Regions from separate parts of the Homo sapiens genome. Here regions 1, 3 and 4 are each linked to region 2. Evidence: promoter capture Hi-C in 16 types of primary human blood cells and fetal thymus (Javierre and others, 2016). All regions are on one chromosome and are shown on one strand. The core of a region is centred on a gene start or on the middle of the fragment in contact, and the rest is flanking DNA. Distances in the headings are between cores, read along the strand shown.

The links. Contacts are between HindIII fragments. The CHiCAGO score rates a contact against its expected background, and 5 or more counts as called.
Region 1: a contact is called between a fragment that was not itself captured here and the fragment with the promoter of NEK9 in region 2, in 3 of 17 cell types (monocytes, M0 macrophages and neutrophils). The highest score is 15.3, in monocytes.
Region 3: a contact is called between a fragment that was not itself captured here and the fragment with the promoter of NEK9 in region 2, in 1 of 17 cell types (naive CD4 T cells). The highest score is 5.1, in naive CD4 T cells.
Region 4: a contact is called between a fragment that was not itself captured here and the fragment with the promoter of NEK9 in region 2, in 1 of 17 cell types (erythroblasts). The highest score is 6.7, in erythroblasts.

What each region holds. Positions count from the first base shown.
Region 1 is chr14:75,397,229-75,403,268 of GRCh38, forward strand. No RefSeq gene overlaps it. Among named protein-coding and RNA genes, the nearest start is that of JDP2-AS1, 27 kb to the right of the region's middle. The HindIII fragment of the contact is 1,128 bases long and covers 3,574-4,701 here.
Region 2 is chr14:75,125,452-75,131,637 of GRCh38, forward strand. NEK9 (NIMA related kinase 9) reads right to left here and starts at 1,597. Exons shown (of 22, transcript NM_033116.6): 1 at 1,252-1,597. The coding sequence starts at 1,470. It overlaps TMED10 (transmembrane p24 trafficking protein 10), which reads right to left. Exons shown (of 5, transcript NM_006827.6): 5 at 6,018-6,186. RefSeq lists enhancers at 1,461-1,510, 1,521-1,650. The HindIII fragment of the contact is 1,961 bases long and covers 734-2,694 here.
Region 3 is chr14:74,842,022-74,847,878 of GRCh38, forward strand. No RefSeq gene overlaps it. Among named protein-coding and RNA genes, the nearest start is that of PROX2, 31 kb to the right of the region's middle. RefSeq lists an enhancer at 1-40. The HindIII fragment of the contact is 2,324 bases long and covers 115-2,438 here.
Region 4 is chr14:74,858,605-74,864,420 of GRCh38, forward strand. PROX2 (prospero homeobox 2) reads right to left here. Exons shown (of 6, transcript NM_001243007.2): 3 at 3,926-5,404. The coding sequence starts at 5,230. It overlaps LOC124903348 (a long non-coding RNA gene), which reads left to right. Exons shown (of 2, transcript XR_007064269.1): 1 at 1-162; 2 at 229-831. Among named protein-coding and RNA genes, the nearest start is that of PROX2, 15 kb to the right of the region's middle. The HindIII fragment of the contact is 428 bases long and covers 1,394-1,821 here.

The sequences.
Region 1 (6,040 bases), core at 2,888-5,387, 270 kb after region 2:
AAGTTCAAGATGGCTTCTGCTGACTAAGGCATGGGTTAACACAGCCCTATCGGAAAATCTTCACGGAGAACTGCACCCCAAGCAGGTGGACATTCTCCTTTTTCTCCTTCAGATCAATGGACAATTTGAAAGTGTATGTATTGTATTTCTCCTGGAGGTCCAAATACAAAACCCCTCTCTGAAGCCTTTCAAGAAGGCTTGGTATGGCTGAAATGTGGTTCTCTGCTGCTGATAAAAGTGATCATGTACCTGTGGGTGGTCTGCTGCCTTAGCTAGGTACTGAAGCCTGGATCCCAGAGACATTCCTTTCAGACTTCCTGAGCACCTCCTGATTCCTGTTCTCATTCCTTCTGGGCTGACCCATGCTCTGTGCTGAGCTTTATACCTATTCTGGTTGCAGATAAGGTAATTTAACAAATAAGGTGAGAGATTCCAGTGAGCAAAAGACAGACAGACAGACAGACAGAGCCAGAGGCAGAGTTAGAGTCTAGACCTTGGTGGGTGAGTGTGAGCTCAGTTTCTAATCATCTCTCAGCTTTACATGGCTCAGTAATCTGATATTATCAGTTCAGACAGAGGGGACAAGGCCCAGGGAAGCACTGTCCAACAGAAATATAGTGTGAGCCATAAATGTAACTTAAAATTTTCTAGTAGTAACATTTTAAAAAGTAAAAAGCATATGTTAACCCAATATAGCTAAACCATTATTATTTCAACATGTAATTAATATAATTTTTTTAAGAGAGACAGAGTCTTGCTCTGTTGCCCAGGCTGGAGTACAGTGGCGTGATCATAGCTCATTGCAGCCTCAACCTCCTGGCTTCAGGTGATCCTCCCACCTCAGTCTCCCAAGTACCTTGGACTATGGGTACACATCACTGTGCCAGCTAATTTTTTTTTTTAGAAATGGTATCTTGTTATGTTGCCCAACTTTAAGAGACAAGCGAGACGTCATCTCTAAAAAAAAAAAAAAAAAAAAAAGAGAGAGAGAGAGAGAGAAATGCATTTCTCTTATGTAAATGCTTAGGTAGGTCTTGAGGGCTACTGATATGGCTCTTTGTGCAATATTTAACCCAAGTTCCTTCTATCTGTTGGTCCACCATGCATGGGCTATATTTCCAAATTCCACAACAGTCCAAGATGACTGCTCCAGCTCCAGCCAGTGCGACCACCTTCCAGCCTGCAGAAAAGGAAAAGGGAAGAAGGACACACTACCACCTTTTCATGGCACTTCCAAAAAGTTACACACATATTACTTTTATTTACATCCATTTGTCGGGATTTAGTCATATGGCCCTATCTAGCTGCAAGGGAGGCTGAGAAATGTACTCTGTGTTCTAGGTGACCAAGTCGCTGGCTAAAATTCAGGGATTCTGTGACTAAGGAAGAAAATAGCGAGGAAGCAACTGATAGTGTTGGTCTCAGAGACCAAACCATGCTAATGAAATGCAGATTCTCTGGTAAACCAGAAGGCCAAGTTATTCAAGAACAGTAAGACTATAATTGTCAGCCAGATGAGAGTGCCTGAGTTGGCTGACCATTTCAATCTCTTCCCAGTAGGCTAGTCTAAATGGTTAGAAGATTAATGGATCGGACTATGAGAGCCTGATAGGTCCCTTTCCATTTCAGGACCTACAAACCTGCCAGGAGAACTAAAACATTCCTGCCAGCCTGGGAGGGAGCCCTTTTTCTGGGATGATGCTAGAGATGCTTGGACAAACTCTGGCCCCTCAACATTTCTTTACCTGAACCCATCCTAGCTTTATACACTACAATTCTACTTATATTTGTTACATTTTAGATGTTGGGAAGAGATTTTGAAGACATACTAGCTCTTTGTTGTGAACTTGGGATTTGCTATTGTCTCATCAGCAGTGTTCATTAACTTGATAAACATTTATTGAGCACCTACTTTTTGCCAGGTATTGCATTATGCTAGGAGTGAATAAGAACCTGTCCTTAAGTTGACTGCAGTATCTAAAGAATAGGGAAAGTGATGGGCAAGCATTTGAGAAATGAGTAGGCATTCACTGAGCAAGAGGAATGAAAAGCCATCCCAGGTGAAGGGAAGGCATGTGCAAAGGCTTGGGAGACACCAAAGAACATGACGTGTTTGGGAAAAAGAAGTAGCTGGGTGGGGCTTGTCGGGAGGAGATGCTGGAAGGGTGGCCTCTTCAGCATCCATTCTCTCTCAGTAACTACCCCATTTTCCTTGGGGTATCCACCCTCCCTACACTTCCCATATTTTTTGGAGGAAGTCGACTCCACCCTGGCCTAGGCTTGGGGTAAATAGCCCCAGTATAGACTAATCAGCAAAATCCCTTCTTGCCTGCAGATGGGCAAATGACCCAATTCTGACCTGAGAGACTGGAGAAGACTTTGCTGGCAGGTTCAGGGAAAGAAGCTCTCTCCCTTTCTCCTTCTATACAGCATGGAGCATAGGTGTGAAAACAGGAATTGTGGCAGCCGTTTTCTCACCATGAGAAAAGCCTGCCTGAGCATGAAGACAACACCATGGAGGGCAGAGAGGAAAACACCAAGAAGAAGAAGGGGTTTTGATGACATTGTGGTGCTATTGAGTCAAACCTACACTGAAGCCTCCTTGAGCCCTCGGCTTTAGGCAGCTTGGGGCTGCAATGTGAAGGACCTTGGGGCTTAGCTTTTATTCTGGGGCAATGGGAAACAATAGACAGCTTCAAGGAGGGGGGCAAGCCCACTGGACCTGAATTGTAGGAAGTTGTCTGCAGTGCTGAGTGCAAAGAGCCTGGGCCAAAGCCAGAAATGAGGACCTGAGCCAAGACAGGAGAAGAGGAAAGAGTCTGAGAGCCACTTGGGTGACAGAAGCCAGACTAACTGGATTAAGAGGGCATGAGGAAGAGGGTGTGTGCTTTAGGAAGAGGCTAAAACTCTTAGCCTGACTACATGAATGGAGAAACTCCCCTTCCCCCTTCTTTTGCCTCTATCACTGTCCCCCTGGGAAATCATGTCCACTGCCAAACCCTGTATTCTCCTCTTCTGCAGATTCATGCCTCTGATTACAATTCTTTATGGGCATGCCTGGTCCTTTGGAGCAGGGACCATGCCTCGTCATCTTCACATCCCCAGGGACTAGCCTGGCACATGGTTGGCACCGGGTCAAGGCTGACTTGGATTGAGTTCTCGCTGAGCTAGGCATGAGCTGCACCCTCCCCCTGCCCCCAGGGCTTAGTCATCTGTTTCATAAGCAGCTTCCAAAAGCTGCAGCCCCAATACCCAGCTTCCTTGTTGTTGGCAGGTGTTGGCAGCCCTGAGTGCCAGAACGCCAGGGAGCCAGCCACTGGGAACATGCTAGGGTGGTGAGCAGGAGCCAACTAATCAGGGCTCATATACATTTACGAGAGGCGTGTGTGTGCTCCCCAGGAGAGCTGTAACGACACTCCCTTTCCAGGAAACACAAACCAGGCCTCTTTCCTTTCTTTTTTCTCACCTGTCCTGTCTTGTGGCCAGAAGCACATTCATTGGCTTTCCATGCTTCTAAAATAAATCAAATTGGGGGCCACACCCTTCCAAGCTACTTTAGGTTTGCTCCGTGGAAGCTTTAACCCCTTATCATCCCACCAGGCCTGAAATGCTTGGGTTCCAATTTACAAAAATATTAACTTTTTATGTCCTTTCAGAAGAAGGATCTCAGTTTTCCTGATGTCTGCTCCCCTGCCCTGGAATTTCTCCCTCTGCTCATAATTCATCCCAAGGATGTTGACTTCTGTGTTTTGGGATGGTCAGGGGCTAAGTGGCATGGAGGGCAAATAGATTAACCTTTTACCAACTTTCCAAAGCCCTTCCTCCTTGTTCTTTTTTGTTTTTGTTTTTTTGAGATGGAGTCTCACTCTGTCACCCAGGCTGGAGTGCAGCAGCATGATCTCATCTCATTGCAACTTCCGCCTCCCAGGTTCAAGTGATTCTCCTGCCTCAGCCTCCTGAGTAGCTGGGACTACAGGCGCATGCCACCACGCCCAGATAATTTCTGTATTTTTAGTAGAGATGGGGTTTTGCCATGTTGGCCAGGCTGGTCTCAAACTCCTGACCTCATGATCCACCCACCTCGGCCTACCAAAGTGCTGAGATTACAGGCGTGAGCCACTGCGCCTGGCCCTTCCTTGTTCTTTTTATCTCGGCCTCCTCTGGGCTTTTGGAAGGCCTCTTCTTTCTCTAACCCCAAGGTTTTCCTCATTACTCCTCCAAGATTTCAAGGTTTTCCTCTTGTCAGTTTCGTTATGGAAACTCCTGGTTCCCCGCTAGCCTGCGCTCCTCAGTAGGGCTCTGAAACTCAGCTCTCATCTGCCCCAGTGTTATGTTGTTTTTTTCCCTGTCGCTATGGCAGGGATTAAGACAGGAGCCAGGGAAGAAGGGCGGGGGGAGGAAAGTGAGCACGGAAAGGCAGAAGAACGATGGGAGAGAGCCTGATTGGAGGGTGTCAGAGCTGAAGGAAACCGACAGAGAAATGGGCTGAGTGTGTCAAGGGAAGGAAGAGGGATTTGTTTTTCGTTGTTCTATTTTGGTTTTGGTTTTATAGTTTGGATTTGTTTCCAGAGATGAAGAGAAATGTACTTAGTGCTGAATCTCCCCCAACATAGAGTCATGGCTAAAGAAATCCCTCTCGCATCGTCAGTAATCCAGGGGCAATCTTTAGATCCCAGATGGAATAGGGAAAACTCTCAAAAAAGCTTCCAGTTATTCTCAATTCACTTTATGGACAAGCCTGCCCAGTCAGTGTGACAAAGTGACCCAGTACCACTCTGAGACCAGGCAAGCCCTGCCCTTTGGAGATCCCTTCCCCGCAGGCCTCCCTTTGTCCCTGGGGCGAGGGGGTCCTCAGGGCTGAGGGTGATGCCCAGACAGAGTCTATGCCCACACCCACCCCTTCCAGCCCATGCTCCATACTCAGGACCCCAGAATCTCTGCCCGAATGGCCCAAGCCCACTTCCAGGTTCTGGGTGGGCCTGTTTCCATGGTCCACCCTCTCAAGGTAGCCTGTGCAGCCAGTGGCCAAGGGATAGCTGCTTGGGACTGGGCAGTGGGCAGAACCCGGAGGTGCAGGCTGGTGTCAAGCATGTGCACTTGAGAAGGGGCCCTGGCTGAGGGTTGGAACAAACGGCAGGCAGGCCCTGAGCGGGGCTGCCTTTCCTTCTGCTGCTGCATTCTGGTCTGAAGAGTCTGAGGATTCTAAAGTCATACCTGGCCTTCCAGAATGTTATGGAGGTTCATTTGTGAAGACAGGAGAAGAAGACAGGTTTTATTGAATAATTTCTTATCTTGACTTATAGCTTTTAAATATTTAGATACATGGTATGTGAATTGTTGTTTGAATTCTTGCCCTGGTCCCACAAACCTGTGATAAAATGAAGATTTGCGTGATGGAAACGACTCTATTTCCAAATCTCTTCTGCTCCATGTTCCAGTCTTTCTCTGCCAAATGCCTTCATTTGAATGCTCTCATCCTGTGTGAGTCTGTAAATCAGCCTACCACTGAGTAGAAGAAATGGTAGTGGCCATTTTGTGTTCTCAATTTATTTTCACACACACACACACACATATATATATATGTGGTCTAGCTTCTGAACCCCCTTTCTGTGTTTGGGGAGTATCCCACTCACACACACACACTTTTCTGAGCCATGGTGGGGAACAGAGCTCACATCCCAGAACACAAAGCAAACATTGCTAAGAACTTGTCGTGGCCAACACTACCAGTGGCTTCCCCAGATGTCCACTCTCCCCTTCTCCTTTAATAAGAGAACCCTCAATGTTTAGCTGGGCACATGGCTGCCTGGGCCAAAGACTACATTTCCCAGACTCTTTTCTGCCAGATGTTGCCAAGCGACCAAGTTTCAACCATTGAGACAGAAGTGATATGGGCAATTTCCAGGAAGTGGTTGTAAAGGGAGGGAGGGGGCCTGCTTCTTACCCTTTTCTCCTTCCTGATATCTGGAATGTGGACTTGATGGCAGGCTCCCAAGCAGCCTTATTGGTCCATAAGGCAGTGTGCAAAGGCAGTGCAGAA
Region 2 (6,186 bases), core at 347-2,846:
AACCCAGTAATCAAGTTCAACAGGATAATAATAAAAAGGCAATGGGCAAGATGTGAGACTTTAGTTCTAGTCCAAGATTTACTTGTAACTTAAGTGAGCAAGTCACTTAAGTATACTGTTTTAGTTTCTCTAACTAAAATATAGAAATAACAATCCTTATCTCCTCTTTCTCATTTTGAGTGCAAAAAAGAAAACAGACTACTAAGAATAACTAACTCTAACATCATACATTAACGTGGCATCAGGATAAAAAAGAACACTTAAAAATATTCTCTTGCAACCACTTCTCTCCTTCTCCATCTTTCAGCCTTAAAAGTATGCTGGCTTGGAACACACACCAGAACTGCAGATGGATTTCCGACGGATGAATCACCTTCAGCAACCCCAGCAAGTTCTCATTAAATGTTTACCCTAAAGTAAGATTTTATGATCAAATCTAGTGTATCGTTAGTTTTTGGAAGTAGAATAATCACTGCAGGGTTTTACACTAGTATATATTAACTTGGGATTCCGTGATCCATGGATCTCTCCAAAGGATGTGCATATGTGCAAATGTGTTGATGGAGGGGGCAAGATTACTTTGCTTAGGTTATCAAAGGGGTCCTTGTGCCCCCCAAATTAAGAACTAATGGCTTAGAATATACCAACAAAGTATTTCCCATGCATAAACCCTGCAAGATAAACACTGATAAAGAACCAACACACAAAGATCTTCCCAATGAGCTTCAAGAAAAGCTTCCAACTGAGTGATCACTGCTGAACTTAAAGATAATGACAAAAATAACGGAGTTGCCACGGGTGTGGGGATTTTGAAGCTATGCCCCTCCTCCTCACCCCGACCTTGGAGAACTATATATACAGCATGAGAGGAAGGAAGTTTTGGCAATACCTCACATTCGTATACCACTTTAATTTACAGAACAGAGCCTTCGTTTGATTCTCAAGATAATCTTAAAAAAAAAAGAAAAAGATGATTTCAAGGTATTATCAGTAAGCCCATTTTACAGATGGGGAAACTAAAGCTCAAGAGACGGTTAGGTGACTTAGGACAATCAAAAATGACTAGTCAAACCAATGATCTAGCCAATTTCTAGTGCCGGTGAGTGGGAAGAGTGGTGAAGACCCTAAGACATATACCCCGTGGGCGCCTAAAGCACTAAGCTCACGACGCTGGGAAAGCGGGGCCGAGAAGGAGGGACTCGGGGCGACCCGACAGCGCCAGACAGGGCGGCCGGCGCCGAGGGCCGCTACCTCGGTGCGGCGGTACAGCGTGGCTTCCCCGAAGGCGCCGCGGCCCAGGACGCGGATGGGGATGTAGTGCAGTTCCTCCTGCTCCGCCGCGCCGCCGCCGGCTCGCGGCCCCTGACTGGCGCTAGGCCCCGGACTCGAGTCCCCGCAACCCCCGGACTCGCTCCCAAAGTCCGAGTTGATGGAATCGCAGTGTCGCTCGTACTCGCCCAGCACCGACATGGCGGCGGCCGCGGGCCTTGGGGACCAGCCTGCGTATGCCCGGAGGCCCTGGCCGCGCTGCGTCCCGCTCGCTTCAGATGCCGGCCCGCGGATCCGTCAGCCCAGCAACCCCGCGAAGCTCGATGGTGGCTCCTGCCCCCCGACCCGGAAACAGTTCTCTGTGTTTCCGGCCTGGCTGAGTTTCCTCCGCCTTTGCTTACCCTCTTGGCTAGTCTAGCGGCCAAGGCTTCCCGCTTTCGGGGAAGGCCTGCAAAGTGAGGCCTCGGGCTAGGGTTGGCGGGCGCGTGGTGGGAACCGCGTGGAACCGAAGGGCTCCCACGGGAACAAGGGCATCACTGACGGTACGGCCTCTCGGGTCTATTGACCCTTCTCTGCCTCCCCGGTCCGGACTCATACAACTTGGAGGCCCAGAGGTCGTCCAGTCTCATCTTGACGTCAGGTCTGTGACAAGAGGGTGATTGGGGAAGCATTCCCAGTGTACACCTTCTTCCCCATTCCAACGTTGGACAGCATTCTTTTTTAGAGAGATAGTATAGTAAAGATAATATGGCCGGGCAAGGTGGCTCACGCCTGTAATCTCAGCATGTTAGGAAGCCGAGGCGGGCGGATCACCTGAGGTCAGGCGTTTGAGACCAGCCTGACCAACTGGTGAAACCCCGTCTCTATAAAATACAAAAATTAGCCAGGCGTGGTGGCAGGCACCTGTAATCCCAGCTACTCCAGAGGCTGAGGCAGGTGAATCACTTGAACCCGGAAGGAGGAGGTTGCAGCGAGCCGAGATCGCGCACTACACTCCAGCCTGGATAACAGAGCGAGACTTTGTCTCAAAAAAAAAAAAAATAATAATAATATAGACAGCCTAAATGTCTGCCTCCGGTCATCTCGGTCCCTGGGCCGAGTTCTTTCTCCCAGGGCCATCCTAAGTCCCTCCCTCTTCTACACAACTCCAAAAATATTTTAAGTCAACTCTCCTGACACTTTCCTTCTCCCCCGTCTCTTTTTCCAGATTCAATTTATTCTATGTGTTTTTCCAGATATTTGACCATATGATATCATGAAACATTCTTTGAGCACTTGGTGCCACACACTGTTTGGGAACAGGAAATCTGCAATAATGTTCTCCCTACCGTCAAGTAGGAAAACAGCAATACGGTGAACAATAGGTGTTCCATCAGTTATGTGACCTTGGGCAATTATGTGACCTTGGGCAACTTCTCATCTCCAAGCTTGTTTTGTTGTGAGAATGTGGTCTACATCACAGACATAACAGCTAACATTTATTGAGTGTTATGTTCTGGGTACTATGCTAAAGGTTTTTTACGTATTATCTCACATTATTATGTATTATCCTATGTATTATGTATTATGTATTATCCTAACATTCCCATTTTACAGAAACAGAGGTACCTAAGTAACCTGCTTAATGTGACAGACCTAGTAAGAGGGAGCTGGGAAGTTGAACCCAGCAATCTGAAAAAGCAGGATGTGATGGGGCTAAGAGAAAGCCATGTGCCTAGCCGGGCGTGGTGGCTCACACTTGTAATCCCAGCACTTTGGGAGGGCCGATCACTTGAAGCCTGGAGTTCGAGTTCAGCCTGGCCAACATGGTGAAACCCCGTGTCCACTAAAAATACAAAAATTAGCCAGGCGTGCACACACCTGTAATCCCAGCTACTTGGGACGCTGAGGCACAAGAATTGCTTGAACTGGGGAGGCGGAGGTTGCGGTGAGCCAAGATCATGCCACTGCACTCGAGCCTGGGCAACAGAGTGAGAACCTGTCTCAAATACATAAAAATACATTGTGTCATATCGATTTGTGAAAAGTTCCTACTTTAAGAGAGCTTACATGTAACAGAAAACCACCAGGCAATTAAAACAGTTTCTATAAGGGCTATTAAAGTGCAAGATTCTAGAGAGGCATTTAGGAGTGGCATCTGTCCAAGCCAAACTTGCTGTGTGAGTGCAGGAATATACAAAATGTTAAGTCTAAACAAAGTAGAGAGATCATTTCAGGTAGAGGCCATTCCATCTACATCCTCCTATTAATTAGAAGGCACTTTGAGGATAGGTATTGCCTCTTGTTTATCTAGATAAACTCCAGAGTTTAGTTTGGCTTAAATCTGTTAATTCTATTAACTTAATTCTGTTATTCTCGATTAACTCTGTTAAACAGAAAAGATGCTCAATAAATTGTTTCTCAGTTGAATGGGAAAAAACCAATTACTTAAAATTGGGAATGCTGACTTTCAAAGAGGCTGAATAGATTTCAGCCTAAGCTTAAAAATTCATTTTTTTCTGGCACCTTTGCAACGAGGAACTAGTTTTCTATAACGTGGTTGGCCTGAAACTGAATTGTTCTAATGATAATGCATAGATACTACAAGCCTAGAAGAAACATGTCCTATTATAGAGCAGAGACATTCCTGCTGAATTCTTCATTATATTGGATATAACTGAAACTAATTGTCTTACCTTTGAATATTTATAAGTTCAAAAATAGTCAACATTTATTCTAATGGTATAACTTTTTTTTTTTTTTTGGAGACAGTCTCACTCTGTCACTCAGGATGGAGTGCAGTGGCATGATCTCAGCACACTGCAGCCTCCACCTCCCAAGTTCAAGTGATTCTCATGCCTCAGTCTCCTGAGTAGCTGGGATTACAAGCGTCCGCCACCATGCCCAGCTAATTTTTGTATTTTTAGTAGAGAGGGCATTCTGCCATGTTGGCCAGGCTGGTTCTCGAACTCCTGACCTCAAGTGATTGGCCTGCTAAAGTGTTGGGATTACAGGTGTGAGCCACTGCACCTGGCCAAGGTGTAAAATTTTAAAGCGCCTTTGGTTGAAACCAAACTATTTCCACATTGTACTTTAACAAGTGAATGGTTAGAATGCTATTTTGCATTAGTTTCCAATTTGTGAATGGCAAATTCCCAGGGGCCATAGAGTTACTGTCAAGATGAAAGAATCTACCAAAGACCAACCCAAGTTTATACCCTTCACTGTCTGCCACGGTAGCCATTAGCTACATATAGCTACTCAACACTTGAATTGTGGCTAGTCTAATTTTAAGCTATAGATGCGGTATAGCTTGAAATGCACACTGGATTTTCAAGATTTTATATGAAAAATGGAATGCAAAACATCTCATTAACCATTTTTATATTAACTATATGTTGAAATAATATTTTGGGTATATTAGGTTAAATACACTACTAAAAATAATTTTCGGCTGGGCACAGTGGCTGATGCCTATAATTCCAGCACTTTGGGAGGCCAAGGTGAGCAGACCACGAGGTCAGGAGTTCGAGACCATCCTGGCCAACATGGTGAAACCCCATCTCTACTAAAAATACAAAAATTACCTGGGCGTGGTGGCATGTGCCTGTAATCCCAGCTACTCGGGAGGCTGGAGAATCAGCAAATTTTACCTGTTTTTTACTTCTTTAATGTGATACTAGAAAATTTAAAATTATACATGCAGCTCAACATTTTATGAGACACCACTGCAGCAGACTAAATAAATGATTTATAAAGCATGTATTGGGCCGGGCACGGTGGCTCACGCCTGTAATCCCAGCACTTTGGGAGGCTGAGGTGGGTGGATCACGAGGTTGGGAGTTCAAGACCAGCCTGGCCAACATAATGAAACTCCATCTCTACTAAAAATACAAAATTAGCTGGGCGTGCTGGTACATGCCTGTAATCCCAGCTACTCGGGAGGCTGAGGCAGGAGAATTGCTTGAACCCGGAAGGCGGAGGTTGTGGTGAGCCGAGATCATGCCATTGTACTCCAGCCTGGGCAACAAGAGTGAACTCCGTCTCAAAAAAAAAAAAAAAGAAAAGAAAAAAAAATTATACCCCAATAATGGGAACCACTACTTTACACACTATGGATTCATAATAAAATTTATTTGAGGGAGAATGGAGATAAGAGGATAAATAAGAGGCCAGCCAGTGGGTGTGCAAAGCACTTCATATTGGCTCTTGGAAAGTCGCTTTGTGAAAAATGTTCAACTGTAAGTGAAAGGAGAGGAGAAAAGACGTTTACCTCCTGGAGTGGGGTTTTGCATTGGATATGATAGGCCTAAAAAGTGAGTCCTGAGGATTCATATACCGGGGGTGGGGGGTGGGGGTCTTTTAGGAATGAAAGGCAGGGGAGATGGCTCTCTGTAGGAGTGATTCTATGCAATTGCAATTTTAATTGCAAAAACCACAATTACTTTTGTGCGAACCTAATAGTAACAGTTTCCAAAAGAGAGAAGATAAAGAGAATAAAATGCCTAGCTTACAGAACCATATTTGGTCTGAGGATGCATAATTAAGGATTCTTAATTATATATATATATATAATTTACATATATTACATACAAAATATGATAATCTTTTACTAGCTCATATAAACTATCGATCTGCAGTAACTGAAGAATAACAATATTTTTTCTCTAATTCATCAGGTATAATTTGCCATAATTTAAAAGAGAAATATGGAAGAATTATCACCAATCCAGACATAGAAGTACTCAAGAGTAACAGTACACCTAAAATGGTTTCTGCTAGCCTTTATTTGAGAAAATTTACACAAAAATCCCCAATCCAACATTTACAAGTGAATCTGTATAAATCCCATATGCCTCTTTCCCAAACAAACCAAGAAATGGCTTTATGACAGGGGTCCATGACAATGGTATAACAAGGCTTACTTAAACTGCATCA
Region 3 (5,857 bases), core at 27-2,526, 280 kb before region 2:
ATGTGATTACTTCTGAAACCAACTTCCTTAAACTCTCATGTATAAGGTAGCTATACACCTAGGATCCCTCTTAAACACTTACTACTTGGTTGGGTAATTCTCATGAATAACAGAAGCTTGAAAATTAACAGAGTATTGGATTCAGTGATTGTACAAGAGCAGTGGAGTTTTCTCCACAAAGTAGAGAAAATCATTTGTGTATTGTTATGCAAATAGCTTACAGAACTATTAATAATTTTGTTTTCTTTAATTTGTAATTTCTTATGTAACTAGTCCATTTGCTTTCACCCAGTGATGAGCATCTTACCTGCTTCACTCGGTAGCGCTCCATTCCTAATCTTTTTAAGGACAAATTCATCAACTTGGCGTTAAAGTCTATCAGTAACATGATCCCAGCTACTTCTCCAGATTCCTCTTGAGCTGTCCTTACTACATGTGCACTACACTGCAGCCACACTGTGTGACTTATTCCCTGGGGTTTCTATTGTTTCTGCCTTGCTTTTCTCATCCTTTAGATATTAGCATTATTGGCTGGGCACAGTGGTTCACACTTGTAATCCTAGCACTTTGGGAAGCTGAGGCAGGCAGATCACTTGAGCCCAGGAATTAGAGACCAGCCTGGGCAACAAAAATGTCGGCTGCAGTGAGCTGATACTGCTGTCCACCCTGGGCAACAGGGTGTGAGACCTCATCTCAAAAAAAAAAAAAAAAAAAAAAAGCCAGGCACGGTGGCTCATGCCTGTAATCCCAGCATTTTGAGAGGCCGAGGCAGGTGGATCATGCAAGGTCAGGAGTTTGAGACCAGCCTGGACAACATGGTGAAACCCCATCTCTACTAAAAATATAAAAATTTTCAGCTACTCGGGAGGCTGAGCCAGGAGAATCACTTGAACCCAGGAGGCAGTGACCCAAGATTACACCACTGCACTCCAACCTGGGTGACAGAGCAAGACTCCATCTCAAAAAAAAGATCGGTGGTGGGAGAAACTGTCCAAAGGCCCAGCTCACATGGTACTGCGTCCCTGAATCTGTTCCTCATCTTGTTCCCTCCCAGCTCTCACAGGCTTTGTTTGTACATGTCCTACCATCTTCTCTTAATTTGCCTTTCTAGTAGAGTAACTTATATATCCTTCCCCCCCATCCTTACCCACTTACATACAAGCTCCTAGAAGGTGAGAATTATGTTTTACTCATCTTCCATCCTTGTAACACATAATATGCAGTATCTGTTACATATAGTTGCTACTCAAGAAGTATATTTAGAATTGATGACCTGGTGATTTTTAAGTATAAAATTAATTCATGTAGGTTCATATATGTATAATTTATAAAACCAATTCTTGTGTTTGCTTTTTCCCTACCTCTGTATCTTCCAGCTGGTGGCATATCAATACTTAAGGCGTAGCACATTCAAATGCCTTCAAAGGACAGGAAGATAAGTGTAAATGAGAGAATTGGCCAGTAATTTCATAATATATTTAGTTTTATTCTTTCAACAGAAACTTACTTTGTTTGCAGATTAGACATGTGGGAATATTCTTCACTCTTATAGAAAAATACCCTGTTTCTCATTCTCAAAACTTTTGGCACTCTCTTAGTTTTCCCACCTTTGGTAGAGACATAAGTACAGTATTATTTTTTCTTTACTGTGAGAAAAACAACAGCAGAAGCAGAATAAAACAGGGTACTTGGCCCTCTCAGCCTCAGGGTTCAGGAAGCAGTAGGGTATGGTGGAGGCTGGGATGGTGCAGAGTGCTTGTCCTGTCTCAGGGGACAATTCTCCAGCCAGTGGTTGGAATGAAGAAAGACAGACCCAATGTTACTAGATGAAGATAAAGTGGAAGTCTGCATTTTTATGTGAAATAGTCACAGTAGAAACAAATCACATCTGGAAGCCACATGTTACCAATAGGCTGTCATTTTGGGACTTTTCTGACATGCTCTAAAGGATGATGACAAGTCTGAAAGACAGTTATGGCAAAGAAGATATTTGTAAGAAAGGAAACATCAGGTTTTATTACATATAAATATTTTGAGCAGCACCTTTTTACTAGTATTTTGGAAAAGCATTTCTGTCTTCATTGAGCGAAGTGGCAATACATATGTAATATACTGATGCTGAATTTGCGGTGGGTTGATTTTTGTCCATTGTTGGCTTTCACATGGAAGCATGAATATTGTCTCCCCGCTACCCCTTTTGAGTGACATCCTTCCAGTACCTCCATTTCTCAAGTTGCAGGTAAGCACCTTGTGTATATACAGTTAAATAGTGGGCACACATCTATCCCAGGAAAAGAAGACAGTGAGAATTCCCTTTGGTTAAGTGGAGCAGTTGAATGGCCACTATACCTGGATGCAAATTTGATCCGAATTTTCTGCTCTAAACCCTCCACTGCTTTCTGCTGTTTCCACTGAGGAAAGAGGATGTGTGTCATTAAAGCTTTGTTGGGACCTGTCACAGTCAAGGTGGGTATAATTATGTTTAATTTATTGAAGTGTTTCTGGGCATCGTCTTTTTCAAATTCATATATTCTATCCAGAAGATGTGAATTCATTTTCATTATTAAAAAAATAAAATATTACAGATAAAGCTCAACACTCCCCCCTCCCCCTTAAGCACAAATACCTTGAATCTTAGAGGTAATTACTATTATTTTGGAGTGTGGCTTTTCCAAACCTTTTTGTGTGTATTTGTATACATATGTACTTGCCTATAAAAATACAGTTTTACTGTTTTTTACATGACTGATATTCTTTACATACTGTTCTGCAGACCTACTATGTCTTGGATACACACATGCATGTATATATGTATATATAGGTAAATATATATATAGGTAGATATAAATACATGCATTCATGTTTGTGTATATTCCATGATATGTGTATAATGGCTTACTTTTTCCTTTTTTTGTGAGTTTTTCACTGTCATACCAGTGTTGCATTGAACATCCTTGTAAATGCCTTTTGCAGGCTTATTTTCAAAAATCTTCCCTGGGGAAGATACAGAAGAATTGAATTACTGGGCTACAGGGAAACCATTTCTCTTTTTATTTTCTCCTAATAATTATCTACATGTGTGTTTTAGAAACAGTCTTAATTTAATATTGGGGGTTTCAAAATTTTTTTTCTCATTTTAAAATTCCAGTTTTATATGCTGTACTCATTTGAATTCTGCCTTTTGAATCTAGATTTGGAATTGATATGGATAAGCAAAATAGGTTCTAAGTGGTAGTGATAGTTCATAACCAGTTTGCTTTTGGAATAGGTGCTGTTTCAATCTTGGGGAAGGTAAAATGTCAATTGAGGAAATAATCTTTAATCATGAAGTTCTTTTTTCCAAGTCATTCTCTGCTCCCTTTGGAATTATGACAACTTGGATCCAGAGGTGCTGTGAAAATATTTTCTTACATCATACCTCTTCTTTTCATACAAGTTTGAATGATCCCGGAAAATACAGTTTTTGTATTTTCAAAAAAAAAAATGAAGTCTGGAACACCCACTTTTCTTAATAGGATCTAGTTTATTTGTTTAGGTAGTAAAGCTTTTATTAAAAGAACATACTTTGAGGATTTTCTGTTTCTCACCTGAGCCTTCTGTATTCACTAGATATGAAACTGAGTGCATTGGCAGGGCCTCTACTAGACCTGAAAGGCAGCATTCCCAGTGTTTATTTTCAGGGGCCAGAGGGAAGGCTATTGACTGACATTGGAGGCCTTAACCCCTGGATTGGTAAGGTTCTGGTGGAATGATTGCTTAGATTCCATAAACACTCGAATAGATGATTACTCCTTTCTGTATGTATGCATTTTTGGAAGAATGATAAAATATGAAAAGTGTGAAGAGTTGTGCACTCAAGTGGTGGTTTTGACCTGGGGAGCTTTTAAAACTCCCAAAGCTCAGGCTACACCTCATAGCAATTAAATCAGAATCTAGGAGTGGGACCCAGGCCTTGGTAATTTTTTAAAAGGCCACCAGGTCATTCTAATATGCAGCCAACTTTGAGAACTGGTGGGGTAAAGGGGATTTTAAATTTTATTTCATCTCTAGCTGATGATAGGTTCATTAAGCAAAACTTTCGAAGGCCCTGGTCTGTTGGTTAACTTTGCAGGTGTGGAAGATACAGTTGTTGGAAGGATACTTGTTAATGAAACTCTTTAAATGTGCAAAAGAAAATCCACCTAGGCTGAAAGAGTTAATGCGGTTTCCAAAGGTGCTTGATAGCCAAGAAACAGCTTAGGCACAGGGACAGTCTGGCTTCTTGGGAGCAAATAAAGCCAAGATTTAAAATGCCTTTTAATCTAAAACATATGTTTGCCCGTGGGCCTGGAAACAAGCCTAGGCCTTTGCAGTTGTGAAGTTTCCTCACGATAGACAGACATGAGTTGTGGTCCAATGTTATTTAAACTTGAAAGCTTAGAGGAGAAATTTGGTTTGTGGAGGAGGTTGTAGATGGGAGAAGAGAAGTGCAGTGGGCAGGCAGAACAAATTATTTTTCTGTGGTTTGTCCTTTCTGATTTTAAGAGGAGAACTAGTTCATAGTTCCAGTTATCACATACAAAATGGAACAAACCTCAAGAAAATGAGAATTGCTATTTTCAATAAGCTAGAATGATCTCTTTAAATTAATCTGCTTTGATACCTAAGATAATCTCTATTTGTGGCATAAGCGTCCTTATAAATGCATTCTATGGTGGTATGGACTGTTTTGCGTCTTCTTTAGAGTACGTGACTCCTTCATTAGAACTTTTCCCCAAAGATTCTGATTTCTCATTGTTTTTTAAATTTTTATTTTGAAATAGTTACAGATTCATAGGAAGTTGTAGAAAAAAATGTACAGAGAAGTCCTGGTGTATTCTTCAACCAGCCATCCCCAATGGTAACATCTTATACAATGAGAAGTGTGTGTCAAAACTTTTAAAAGCCAAGAAGTTAATGTTGATACACTCCACAGAGCTTATTCAGATTTTACCAGTTTTACAAGCACTCATGTGTATGTGTGTGTTTGGTTCTGTGCAGTTTTATCTAATGTAACTTCATGTATTTGTGTGTGTTTGGTTCTGTGCAATTTTATCTCATGTAGCTTCATGTAATCACCACCACCATAATCAAGATTCAGAACTCCATGTGGGAATGTGAAGAACTGTTAAGAGAATGAGTATAGAATGAGTCACTTTGCTTGTAGTCCCATCATGACTTAAATTCAGGACTTTATATTGTTGGGGACTGCTGCTTTGAGGGGGTAAGTAGCATAGCTTTTGCAACATAAAGTGGCTTTTTAGTTTTTTTTTTTTCATGAGATCATCAATATTGGTGCTTTTCTCAGTAACTACGCTTTTGAGTAGTTCAAGCATGGCCACTTGCTTTATTTGAAGGGAGTAAAATGAGAAGTATATGCCCCAGAGCATAAGAATCTGTTGCTGATCTTAATTTTTGGACAAATTGAATGCTAGGAAGTTCTTTTTCTGCCAAACTTCAGAACATTTGAGACCTGCTCAGTAAACAGTCATTGTATATTTTTAGTCCTAAAACAGTAAGAAGACTATTGGCCTCCCAGAGAAATGCCCTGATGTATTTGAATTGAATAGGCATGGCTTTATAATAAAGAAATAGTAACAGTCACTTTAAATAGCATATTCTAAGCATTAAGTCAACCTGTCAAACCCTGCCTCACTCACATTTTTTAGGTGATTACTGTCTCCAGAGCATAAGGATACATAATCATGTCTACTGTTCACATGGCATAAGGATAAATCCTCATGGATAGGATAATTTAAAAATTATTTTTGCAATAGTATGTCAAAATTAAGGTGTTTAGGAAAGTCCATTGTTATTAAACTTTCTGTTCCCAGGACTT
Region 4 (5,816 bases), core at 358-2,857, 270 kb before region 2:
TCATTTTGTTTTTCTGATTGGAATTGTGTATTTGCTCCATTTTTCTGTCTCTGGAAACTCTGGTCAAATAAGCTGGATGACATATGTGCACAGTTAAGTCACAGAATGTAAAAATCATCTCGATGTGGAAAAGTTATGTAGCATAGATGATGTCAAATACAGGTTGGTGTATTTTGTGTGTGTGTGTGTGTGTGTGTGTGTGTGTGGTGTCTTAGATGTCAAATACAGGTTGGTGTATTGTGTGTGTGTGTGTGTGTGTGTGTGTGTGTGTGTGTGTGTGTGGTGTCCAAGTGGGATGGGAAGAGATGGCAATTCTATCCCAGATAAACCATTTCAAAACCCCAAGCAGAGATTTACTTCCCCTCTCTGCCTCAGTTTCCTCAGCTGTAAAACGAGAAGAGTAAACTAGGTGGTCCCCATTCTGGCTGTCACTCTTATCATTGCCTTCACAGTGTTGCCTTTATAACCAGCAAACATCTAAGCAGGCTGAATACCAGCTCATATTTTGCTCTTGCTCAAGAAGCTTGAATGGTTGGGTGGTACCCACTCTCCATTTGCCTGGCAGAACTATCCCTCATCTTTCAGGTCTCAGCTCAGAAGCTCCCACCTCTGTTAAACCCTTCCTTGCCAAATTAGGCCTTCCTTACCCTGGGCTATGAAGACTCTTTGTACAAACTGTTGCAGCGATGACCTTATTGGAATTTTTACTGTATGTTTGTCTCGTCTAGACTGTGAGCTCCTTGAGAGTGAGGACCTTATCTTTTCATCTTTGTGCCTAGCCCAGTGCTAGGAACATAGCAGGTGCTCAATAAATATTTGTTGTGTGAAGGAGTAAGTGAGTGAACGGTCAACCTTAATCCATACACATATATGGAAATTAGATTCCAAACTATACCTCACTCTGGGAACAGACAGATTCCTTCCCCTTTAACAAGAGTCGGAGAATTGTGATGTGACTGCCTAGCACTAGGGCAGGACGGAAATGAAAAAAAGATTTACACAAATACGCTTTGCATTTTTAGGGACAGTCCTTAGGCTGGGTGAGAAGCATTACACAGAGTAACCTGGGATCTCAGATCCGAGAGCTGTAGCTTAAGACAGTGAAGACTTCCACATAGGATGAATCTGTTTAACCAAAAGAAACCAGACCAACTGACTATGGTTATAGGTGGCCCAGGCACCTAGTTGCTGCACAGGAGATCCCTCCCTGCTGCCCCATCAGCCCCTACTTACCCTTCCTACAGATCCACAAATGCTGTGGAGAGAATCCTGGATTGGGATTCCAAAGACCCAGTTTCAGACACTGATTTTGCCATCTATTAGCTGTGTGACCTTGGGCAAGCCACTTAACTGCTCTGAGCCTCATTGCTAAGATGTGGAGTATAGTGGTTAAAGCTTGTACTTGGCCATCAGATCCCGGGTTTAAATCCTGGTTGCTCATTAGTGTGTCTTGGGACTTTGGACGAGTTAGCTCCCTTCTCTGTCTCTGCTTCTCGGATACCCGATCTTAGAGTGGATGCTTGAGAACGGTGAGATAATACAGGTCTAAACCCGTTATCTGAAATGCTGAGCCAAATGGAGTTTGGATTTCAGAATTTGTTAGCTTATAAAGATAATACGATGTGTGTACCACACATTAATTAACATCCACAGCTGAGACAGTGTATAATCCAATACATTAACATTTCTGCAGCAGAACGTATGACTATACTAAGTGGGATAAAATCTATTAATAGCCTCCAATCAGTGCAAGCCAGGTTTTGCTACCAAAAAAAAAAGATTGCATCATTCTTAGGGGGGGAAAATCATAGGGCCTGTCAAAGCTTTATGGGTTTCAGAATTGTAGCTAAGTGGTGGTGGGCACATATGTGTGAAGTGCTGGTAGCAATGCCTGCCACCGAGAAGGTGTTCTGTCAATGCTCCCCTCGTGATCTTCACATCTGCCCTACCTATGTCACAGGATGTCATGTGAATGTGAACGTTCTTTTTATGCTGTAAAGCAGCTTGCTCTCAGGTGGCTTTCATGGCCCACAGGAATAAATCTCTTGGAATATAGGCAGCAGGAATGAGGGAAGAGTTGAGGGGCCAGGGTGCTGCTAGGGGGTCCCAAGTCATTCCAAAGATAGTCAAGTACTTCACCCATGCAGCCAGTCCTGGCTTAGGTATTTCTTAGGATAGGCCCCAAACCTCCAGAAGCTCTCTGAGCCCAATCCCCAATTTAGGGGGCAGGAACAGGCACATGTAGGTGCTCAACAAATAGCAAATTCTGGGAGACTGAGGTGTTTTTGCAGCTGTCTGAATTTAATGGAGAGTCAACTAGTGGTTATCAAAGGCCCAGACAGGTAGCCTTTCTTATAAAGAAAATCTGTCTATGGTGGAATCTCTGCCTCCAAGAGTGGTGGCAAGTGAAGTGTTCTCAGCATTGGTTTTACAGTTGCTCGCTAACTTCCAGGAAAGCTTTGGGGTGTTTCCAACACTTTTGACCGGCAGGGGGCGCTCATGGCATTTAGGACACAAAGGCAGGTTCTGGCATGGTAATGAGCTGGTCCCACCCCATCCTGCTGCCCTCACAGTAGTTGCCAGGCAAAGGACACGACTGTTCCCACCTGGATATGCAACTCCATAGACTCATCAGCTTCTGGAGATTCCCCTCAAAGCTGCACACAAGAAGCAGCAGCGTGAGCACAGCTAGCTTAAAAAGCAACATCCAAAATATATTCTCAAGAACTTAAGTTCTGCAAGATGCTTGTTAGAAGTGGTCATATGGGTTTGGGGCTGTGTACATTCTCCTCTTAGAGCTTCCATTTACTCATGTTAAAGGCTCTGAGAATTCCTGCAGAAAAGAAACTATCTCAGTATTTCCCCAAGGTACTTTTTCTTCTAACTCAACAATTATTAATATCCCGAGGGTTACTCTGGGAAATACATTAAGAGAGTAGTGTCTACTTAAGGGTTGCAAAGATGATGCAATAAGATCCAGAGCCCTGCAGATCAGCCTGGGCCACTCAGGCCTCCTCATGGGGAGCCTCCTCTCCCTTCATATGCCCAGCCCCTAGTCTCCAGGCACTCCATTGCACCTTGGAAGTTGTTCCTTAAACTGGAGACCTCTGGCCGTTTCCAGCCACCTCTCTGGGTTTAATCCCCGAGGAAAACTCCTTTTCCATTTGGCCCAGAAGTTTCTTGTTCCTCATCTGCTCCCCAGGAATTATCTACACAATATAGGATTTTTGCTTGTAGAGCTATGGGGTTGGGGAGGCCATACCTTAGATGACGTCATTCCTTTGACCCTCTCCTCCTAAGTTTATGGGTGGCTGACAACCAAATTATGGATTCTTTCTTCCTTAGGGTATTCATTGTATTTCAGAAGCCTATTTGAGTCTCAAAACAAAACCCTTTTAGACCCAAAGGAATAAGTCAAGTGGCAGAACCCGATGGGTCATAGAAGAAGCTAAGTGAACCTTCCCAGGTCCTTAAATTCCAGAATGTGGTCACCACTATAAGCTGAAGGCCCAGAGCAACATTAAGAAGACCCTGAGTGATCTGTCCCCAGCTCCTCTTCAACTTTTAGTTTTCTTGTTTCTCTGCACAGTGTCAATGGTATTTTAAATTATTTATTGAAACATTGTCTCTCTCTGTTGCCCAGCTGGAGTGCAGTGGTGCAATCATAGCTCACTGTAACCTCGAACTCCCGGGCTCAAGCAATCCTCCTGCCTCAGCCTCCTGAGTAGGACTACAGGCATGGGCCATCATGTGCAGATAATTTTTTATTTTTAGAGATGGGGTCTAGCTATGTTGTGCAGGCTAGTCTTGAACACCTGTCCTCAAGTAATCCTCCCACCTTGGCCTCCCAAAGCACTGGGATTACAAGCATGAGCCACACTGCACCTGGCCAACAATGAGAACTTCAATTGCTATTAAAGGATATGTGGACCAAAGAGAAAGGCAGTGCCTCCATGACAGCATGCAGGCCTCTCTGTTCCATCTTCACCGAGGGAAGAAGGGGTAGACTTTCCAGATGGGCAGAGGTGAAAGGCAAGGGACACTGCTGCTGGCTCAGGACCAATGGTTGCGGCTTAGTAGTTCTCCAAGGTCGTAGGGCAGGCTCTGAGGAGGGGTGCCTCTGGGAAGATGAGTCCTGGGGAGGACTGCTACTCCAATGGCCATTGTTGTATCTATGACCCAGTAGCTGGCTAAGAATCTGATTTTCCTGGATGTGGGAAGGTGCAGTCAAGGGAAAGTTTGCTGGGGGATCCTGACAGGGTTTGGGGGTCATTCTTGGAGGGATAGGGTACCTAGGAGAATCTAGACGCTTGGCCAGTGATAAATTTCCTACTGGGACCCCAGCTTGTAGCTGGACCCTCCTGGGCAAGGCAGCCAAAGCAAGTGGATCTTTACAGGCCCCTCCCACAGGAGGTGAGGGCTCGCTTCTACCCTCTGCCACCTGCCCCTGGAAGCTTCTGCCCAGCTGAGTCAGGTGGCCTGGTGGATCCAATAGTACCTTTTGTAATACCGAGTCCACAGCCTGGGACACTGCCCTGGTCAGCTCTTTCCTCAGAATCTCTAGTGAAGCTGGTGCTCCAGAAGGAAGGAAACTGGGCTTCTCAGACTCTTGGTGTTTTTCTGCCCCAGAGAGGTCCTTGCTGGTACCTTGCTGGTGGTCACCGTCCACAACCCAGGGGCGAGGCCCACAGCCATTCCCCTGCTTTGCACTCAGAGGGCCTTTCCCCGTGCCACAGCCTCCTGGCCCCTGAGCTGTGTCCCTGGGCTTGGCAGCCTGTAGGATGTGCTCTTGCAGATGTCTTAGCTGTTGCTTCAGCAGATGAAGTTGTTCTCTCACACGAGGGCCCCCCTTCCTGTTGCCCTGGTCCCAGGCAGGGGCTGGCATCAGGAGGCCTTGCGGTGTGGGAAGGTTCTGCTTCCTCTTCCTCTCTCGGGCCTTCTTTGGGCAGCGTGGGCTGACCCCAGCTTGCGCATTGCCTGGCACCAGAGGATTCGGGGAGAGACACATGCCTCGGACAATGGTCTCCACTCTGGCCCTCTTTGCCTGGATGTGCTCATCACCAAACCATTCGGGGTCTGTAGGGCTGGAGCTGGGGACCTGACTCCAGGGAAACGGGGAGTCTCTATCCAGCTCTGGAGGGGATGAGCTTCTCTCGCCTTCCGTACAAGCTTCTGCTAGGTGGGAGCAGATCTGGGGCTGAGGAGAAAGCAAGATGGAGTTTGGATCCATCCCAGGCACTTGTTCAGGGCTTCAGGAATTCCTCCTCCTTATTTCCTCAGCTGGAAGTGCACCCAGAATGCGCTGGGCTTCCTCCTCTGCACTTAGAAGGGTAAAGAGCCACTGTCACTGAGGAAGGATTCAGATTCTGGGATGCCAGGGCTCATGAACCTCCTGGGCAGACTCCTGAAATTAGAGACAGGAAGAAAAGAGTACGTGTGACTTTGAACAGTCCTTTTAAAATGTGAATGTGCAAACATTCAACGCGGTCTCGTTAAAGTGTAGATTTCAATTCAGTAGATGTGGGGTGGGGCAGAGATTCTCCATTTTAAGCCAGCTCCCAGGTAATGCTGATGCTGCTGGTCTCAGAACCCCACTTTGAGGAGACTCCGAGAGTGATCTTACAGGGAGAAAAATCTTCTCCTGCTTGGGCATAACAATAAAATAATAATAATAATAATAATATCGTAGTGGCAGCCGCCTGAACAACTGGCATTATGCCAAGAACTCTACATCCATTAATTTAATTAATGTGTCATAACAGCTCCATGAGAATGTGGTCATGCCTATTGTCTACAGATAAGAAAACAAGATCAGA